2 separate regions of the Homo sapiens genome follow, and region 2 is linked to region 1. The links are contacts of gene promoters, found by promoter capture Hi-C in blood cells and fetal thymus (Javierre and others, 2016). All regions are on one chromosome and are shown on one strand. The core of a region is centred on a gene start or on the middle of the fragment in contact, and the rest is flanking DNA. Distances in the headings are between cores, read along the strand shown.

Region 1 (3,616 bases), core at 751-3,250:
TTCTGTCCCCCATTACTGCCATTGATAAATACCACTGGGGAGTGCCTACTGCAGAATCCCAGCCACTTTGTCATTTGCAACCTGGCCAGCCATTTTTTCAGTGACTATCCAATTACTGGAAGTAAGTTATTCTATTCAGAGGTGAACACCAGTCACGCTTAAGTGTTCCCACCAACCGGTGTGCAGCGCCCCACACTTGGAGCCACCGCACAGGACAAATACTGCTTTTCCTGAGCTCCCCTGGAGCTTCATTCATTGAGGCAACCCAAGATCCCTTGCTAAAAGCAAAACTAAAGCATTCCACGCCGTTTTCATTCAGGTGGCCTCCATTTGACTCCCGACAGCCTGAACTCGTCACGTAGGTAAGAAAACTTTTTAAAGACCATTTGGACTTTGCTTTGTTTCAGTGAAATGGGTCGTGAGAAAAAGTGCCTTCCAACGACCAACTCCCTAAATCCAACACCCTTCTCTTTACAGCGTCTTCACATCCAACCTTTACAACCAAGACTCTATACCTCAAACTACAGTGCCTTGGAAAATTACTGCCACATCGGCAGAAAACCGAGTTACCTTTCGAGTCAGGTTTGATTCTGATGCAGGCAGCCATGTGCGGCAGGGCTTTCGCACGGTTGCAAGCGCACACCTGGCCGGATGCTGGCTGCACCACACACTGCCAAGTACAAACTCCCCGAAAAACAGGTGGATTCGGAAACCAACAGCGCCCGGGTCAGAACTCTGGGCCAGTCCAAAACCTGACAACATCTGCGTTCCTTGCAGGTATTTTCGAACGTAAGCCCGACGCTAGGCAGTGCTGTTAGAAAGTGATTTGGAAGAGCGCTTCCGAGCCACGGCGCGCCCTCCGGGGGAGCGCACCGGAGCAGGTGCGGGCGAGCCCCGCGCCCGGGGAGGTCAGGAATTCCCCAGCCACACCAGATCCAACCGGACGCCCCAGAACGGGGACGGTCCCCGGAGTCCGCCTCCCAACCTGGGTGAGAAAACACCTCCGTCCCTCCGCTGCCTGAGCGCTCGAATTTACAACTCAGGGCGCTTTGTGCCGCGGAGGCCCGGCGGACGCGAGGTCGGGACAATGCACGGGGCCGGGGTCCCGGCGGCCGCCCCTCGCCCGCGGACCCGGCATGACTTTGCAGCCTCGCAGGCCGGGGCCGGGAGGCCAGGCCGAGGCCCGGCGGCCGCCCGGGGCCTGGTTAAAGATGGCGAGCCCCTCGCGTGGCTCCCGCGGCTCCCCCGGCCACAATGAAAGGCGCCCCCCGGCCCCGCCGCGGCCGGCCCTCGGGCCTCACCTTCCATCTCCATGTCCTCGGGCTCGCTCAACTGCTGCTCGCCCGCTTTCTGCTGCTGCTGCTGCTGCTGGTGGTTCATGTCGGCCGCGGCCTGGGCCTCGCCTGCGGCCGGGGGCCGGGGCTGCGAGCCCGGCGGGCGGGCGGCGGCGAGCCGGGGCGGCGGCGGCGGCGGCGGCGGCGGGGCGGCCTCCTCCTCCTCCTCCCGCGCGTCGTCGGCGACGGCGGCCCCGGGGCGGCCCGCGGCGGGCGGCGGCGGCGGCAGGGAGACGCGCACGTACTTGCTCGCGATTCGCCCAATCTCGGCGCCGAGGCGGGCGGGCGGCCGGCGGGCCGGGCCGGGCGGCCTCGTCGCTCGCTGCGGCCGCCGCCGCCGCCGCCGCGGGGCCCGCCTCCCGCCGCCGGGGCCGGGGCCGGGGCTGCGGGGCCGCGGGCCGGCCGGGGGCGGAGGGCGGCCGGTCGGGGGCCGCGGAGTCAGCCCCGCCTCGGGCCGGGCGCGGCGGACGGGAGGCCTGGCCGGCCGCGGCGGGCCTGCGGGCCCTGGGGCCGGCGGGAGCGGCGGAGCGGGCGGGCGACGGGCCGGCCGCGTTCCGAGAGCCGCGGCCTCCGCCTCCTCGGCGTCGTCGTCGGGGCTCCGGCAGCGGACGCGGCGCCCGGCAGCTCGGCTCGGCTCGCTCTCAAAATGGCGGCGGCGTGAAATGTCACATCCGCATGGGGGGCCGCGGAGCGAGCGAGCGAGCGAGGAGAGCAAGCGGGCGGGCGCCGAGCCGGAGGGCGGAGCGGGAGCGCAGGGCGGAGCACGGGAGGCGGAGCAGGGAGCGACCCGCCTGCCGCCGCCGCCGAGGCCCGCCTGCCCCGCAGCGCCGCGCCCCGGCACCGCCTGCGCCGCAGCCCCGCGGCGGACCCTCGGCGCTCCCTGCCCCCGGGCCCTGGGGGCCGAGGCGGGCCGCCCGGTGACTTAGCCCTGCGGAGGTGAACCGGAATCCTTCCCATCCTGGGGAGCCGGACACCCCGAAAGACCCAGGAGCGGCAATGAGGAGGGGCCCAGAAGCCACCCGGCAGCCGGGGTTCAGGTCCCAGCCTAGCGCGCCGGGGCGAGCGCTGGAGGTTGCCCGGGGACTGCTCGGGATAGGGCCCGGAAGGGAGCTTGGGGTCAGCGCCTAGAAGTTCCTGTTATTGTCGTTACTTACCCTTGCCCGCTGACGTGCACTTTTTCACCCAGTATCTACCGTGGAAGAATTTATTTTCTCACTGTCAGCCTAATCTGGCAAAGTTTGGCTCCTCAAGAGCAACCCCAGGCGGGGCGCAGCTGCTCACACCTGTGATCCCAGCACTTTGGGAGGCCGAGGTGGGAGAATCACTTGAGGCCAAGAGTAAGAGACCACCCTCTCTACAAAGGTTTTGGGTTTTGTTTTTATATTTTTGAAATGTATTTTTAATTAGCCGGGTGTTGTGCCTCCTGCCTGTAGTGACAGCTACTTGGGAGGCTGAGGCTGGAGGTTCGCTTGGGAGGTTGACTGAGGCTGCAGTGATCAAAGATGGCGCCACTGCACTCCAGCCTGGGCAACAGAATGAGACCCTGTCTCAACTAATAGTGATAATAAAATAATAATATAAAAATAAAACAAGCCCACTACCCTTCACATTTGGTATTAATTTACTTCCTTCCTATCAACCCAGTCTGGGATCATTCACCCGGGGCCTCCCTATTCCAGGAGACATTTGGTGAATATATCTCCTGTCCTGTCTCATTCAGTCATTGACAGACTGATGATTAGGGTCTCAACTTTTCCAGTTAATCAAGGCAGTGTGGGTCAATAAAAATGGAGCAAACCGATATACATTTCTACACATCTCAGGGGAGAATAGAATTTCACCCTAACAAGGCCAGAAGATTGTGGTACCTGTCTTCTCTCCATCTCCCTATACCCGCTTTCCCTGCATTTTTCTCCCATTTATGTACTGTTCATCTCCCTTCCCCCCGAAAGAATGTTTTGCTCACTGTTGTATCACAAATGCCTGGGATACACAGCAAGTGCTCAATAAAAATTGGTTGGGCCAGGTCGGCGCGGTGGCTCACACCTGTAATCCCAGCACTTTGGGAGGCCAAGGCGGGCGGATCACTTGAGGTCGGGAGTTTGAGACCAGCCTGACCAACATGGAGAAACCCCGTCTCTACTTAAAGTACAAAATTAGCCGGGCGTGGTGGCGCATGCCTGTAATCCCAGCTACTCAGGAGGCCGAGGCAGGAGAATCACTTGAACCCGGGAGGTGGAGGGTGCGGTGCGGTGAGCTGACATCGCGCCATTGCACTCTAG
Region 2 (3,742 bases), core at 436-2,935, 140 kb before region 1:
AGGCTTAGCAGCCTCTTCCAGCAGCACAGCCTCCAGGAGGCAGAGTCTGGTGTTACATAAAGGGTGCCATCTGCTTGGAGCAACTCGAGAGCAGAGTGAGGAAGTGTGGCGTTGGCCGTTGCTTTTCAAAATATTTGCCATCTTCAGAAACCCTGTCATTCTTCCCATCAGCCACAAAAGCCAGTGTTTCTTAAAATCTGGCTCTGAGTTCAGCATGGAGGCCCTGGGCCTGGCATGGAGTACCTTGGTTTGTTGCAGAGAGAGAGAGACGGCAAGGGCAGAGAGCACACACCACACATGGCTCTGCATGGCTTTCCAGAAACCACCCTGGCTGGATCACCCTCAGCCACTCTGAATTCGCAGGCAAGAGAACCTGTACTTACCCATGCTTTCTGTAAAAGTCATCTTGGCTTTAAGGCAGTTGCAACATGAAAACATTCTAACACTTCATGAATATCAAGCAGCTGGTTTGGTTTTTGACTTGACGCTTCCATTTTGGGTAATTTGGCTATCAGTGCACTCAAGCATGTGTGAAAGACTCACGCAGAGGGTTCAGGGTTGGGGACAGCCCCGCTGCTCCTCAGGAGGCTGGCCACATGACAGTGGTCTGTCTCTGCACTGGGATGCCATGTAGCTGTAAAAAGAGTCCATGTGGACCCATCTCTAGGGCTTTTTGTTAGGTGATCAAAGCAAAGTGCAGGACAATATAAGTAATGTGCTGGCTACATTTTTGTCTAAAGAGGGCAAAGGAATTTCTCTTTTTGTTAGCTTATAAATGCATAAAAGGAGTCTGAATGGATGAAATTTACAGAGGTTACTGTGGGGGTGGGGAGGACAGGAGAGAGAATTGCCACCTAGGTCTTAACTCTTTCTTAATATGTTTGAACTATATGAATGTGCTATCTATTGAAAAATAAAATTTTTAAATCAACTTGAGAAAAGGATCTGAGTAATCCCTGTAATCCTGGCTACTAGGGAGGCTGAAGTGGGAGGATTACTTGAGCCTAGGAGTTCAAGATTATAGTGAGCCACGATTGCGCCACTGCACTCCAGCCTAGGCAACAGAGCGAGACCTCGTCTCTTAAAAAAAAAAAAAACAATAAAAATTAAAAATTTTTAAAAATTGAAAAAAGGGAGGAAATGTAAATCTTCCAGCACTTCCTCAGTGTCAGACCCTGAGCTGGACACTTATGTTGTACATGCTCCCAGGGGAGACAGCAGCATCCTCCCTCTTACAGAGGAAGCACAGTGGGAAGTCCAGGGTCTCAGCTAGTCAGAGACTAAGCTGGGATCTGAAAGCCTCGCCTCTGTCATTCTCCTACATCGCTTCTAACATGCTACCTGCCTTCCTTTTAAGTAAATTGTGCAACATTTTATTCTCCAGAAATGTTAATAAGGAAGATCTGCCTTTAAAATTAGCTTAAAAATACAAAAATTAGCTGGGCGTGGTGGCGCATGCCTGGATCCCAGCTACTCAGGAGGCTGAGGCAGGAGAAGCGCTTGAACCCGGGAGGCGGAGGTTGCAGTGAGCTGAGATTGTGCCATTGCACTCCAGGCTGGGCAACAGAGTGAAATTCTGTCTCAATAAACAAATAAAGAAAAACAAAATTAGCTTAAAAGAGGTTTGTATCAGTGTGGACCATGTTGACCCAGATCTGGCCCCACCATTCACCAGTGACCTTGTGACAGTGAGGACAGTGACAGTGACCTCGTCAGCCCAGTGAGGACACAGTTCTTCTTTTTTTTTTTTTTTTTCCTGAGACAAGGTCTCACTCTGTCACCCAGACTGGAGTGCAGTGGCGCAATCTTGGTTCACTGTAATCTTGAACTCCTGGGCTCAAGTGATCCTCCCACTTCAGCCTCCTGAGTAGCTGGGATTACCGGTGCCCACCACCACGCCTGGCTAATTTTTGTATTTTTAGTAGAGACGGGGTTTCACCATCTTGGCCAGGCTGGTCTTGAACTCCTAACCTCAAGTGATCCGCCCACCTTGGCCTCCCAAAGTGCTGGAATTACAGGCGTGAGCCACCACTCCCGACCACAGTTGCTCTTCTGAAGGAGTCATATGAGAATGAAGTGAAGGCATCTGAGGAAAGTGGGTGACGCAGGGCCTGACTCAGGAAAGGCAGCTGGGACATGCATCTTTGGCCTGGTCCACAACCAGCGTCTGCTTCCTTCACTTTCTAAGAAAGTTATTCAAAGGCTCATCTGTTATTGAGATTTTCCTAAGAGATTGGAGCCTGCCAAGTCCCTCAGTGAAGGGCCATCCTTGTGAGTGAGCACCTTCCTACACACCTTCCAACAGTTCATTAGAGCGTGAATTAGTGAACCATGTCCTCCTGTCCTCAGGTTCCAAGTTAGGCTTTGGATGGCAGTTGGCCTTTGCGATCCTGGACTTAACCATGCCTAGCATCTGTAGCTCTTTCAGGACTCAAGGCTAAGGAGGGCACAGAATGGATTCTGTGGATAGATCTGTCTTACTACTTATTGCTGGGACCACATGATTTGAGACCCAGGTCTTCTTGTGTGGCTGGTGGCAGACTTAGCTTCTTAACATGTGAGTCCCTCACTCCTGGAGGGACCCTGAGTGAATTGCCGCTCCCACAGTCAGCTTCCAGAACTGACTGGCAGAAATTGATGAGAGGTTCTCAGCCTGGTGGAGATGTCCCACCCGCTCCTGTGTGGGAGGCCAGGAAGCAGGGTGTCATGCATGGGAGCCACGAGCTTCAGATGTTCCTGCTAGCCCACCTTCCTCCTGAGTGCCAGACTCCACAGAGTCCATGGCCCTGGGTGTTGGTCCCAGGAATAGGACTGTGGCTAACAACCAGCCCACAGAGTGAGCATCCCTGCCTGTGTCTGTGCTGAAGCTCTTTCATTCAGGGAGACACTGGCTTCAAACCCCTGGAGTGGGGCTGGCCTTCCAGGGAGCCCCTTGATGTCCGCAGAATCGGCATCTCCTGTGGGCATTCCAGGCCCAGATCCGTCACAGAGCTGTCTCCTCTGCCCTTGAAGGCCGGAGAGGTGAAATGAGAGGGCTGTGCTCAGAGCCGTCAACAGACCCAAGGGTCACTCGCCCTAGGGCCACTAGCCCCTTGGCCAGCTCAGGTTCCACCCTCGCCCCCAAGCCAAGGGGTGTTTTTTCCTAGATTCTAAGTCACTGGTGCTCAGCCCTGGATATATATTGGAATCACCTGATCACTTTCAAAACATCATGACCCTGGGCTTGGGCCATGCCCCAAACAAGCATTTTTAAGGCATCCCCAGGGACTCTAGCCAGGGAGAGCCACTACTGCTCTACGCCATTTCAGAGCAGGCTCTTGTCTCATTGGCCCTGTAACTGCCCAACAGGTTCTCCTTGCCCACTGCCTAGACAAGAGCCGATTTATCAAGACAGGAGAGTTGCAGTAGACAAAGGGTAATTCACGCAGAGCTGGCTGTACAGGAGACTGGAGTTTTATTATTCCTCAAATCAGCCTCTCCAAGAATTTGGGGATCAGAGTTTTTAAGGATAACTTGCTGGGTAGGGGCTTGGGAAGTGGAGATTGCTGATTGGTCGGCTTGGAGATGAAATCATAGGGGGTGGAAGTGAGTTTTTCTTGCTATCTTCTGTTCCTGGTGGGATCAAAGAGCTGGTTGAGCCAGATTACCTGTCTGTGTGGCATCAGATACTGCATCAGAACACAGGGTCTACAAAATATCTCAGGCACAATCTTAGGTTTTATGACAGTGATATTATTTTCAG

The links. Contacts are between HindIII fragments. The CHiCAGO score rates a contact against its expected background, and 5 or more counts as called.
Region 2: a contact is called between a fragment that was not itself captured here and the fragment with the promoter of USP7 in region 1, in 1 of 17 cell types (non-activated CD4 T cells). The highest score is 5.1, in non-activated CD4 T cells.

What each region holds. Positions count from the first base shown.
Region 1 is chr16:8,961,906-8,965,521 of GRCh38, forward strand. It overlaps USP7 (ubiquitin specific peptidase 7), which reads right to left and starts at 2,001. Exons shown (of 31, transcript NM_003470.3): 1 at 1,302-2,001. The coding sequence starts at 1,380. It overlaps USP7-AS1 (USP7 antisense RNA 1), which reads left to right and starts at 808. Exons shown (of 2, transcript NR_184341.1): 1 at 808-989. RefSeq lists enhancers at 372-908, 3,605-3,616 and a silencer at 2,104-2,463. The HindIII fragment of the contact is 5,189 bases long and covers 1-3,616 here.
Region 2 is chr16:8,818,614-8,822,355 of GRCh38, forward strand. The region is part of intron 7 of PMM2 (phosphomannomutase 2); the gene reads left to right. Among named protein-coding and RNA genes, the nearest start is that of PMM2, 23 kb to the left of the region's middle. RefSeq lists a silencer at 583-632. The HindIII fragment of the contact is 5,228 bases long and covers 1-3,742 here.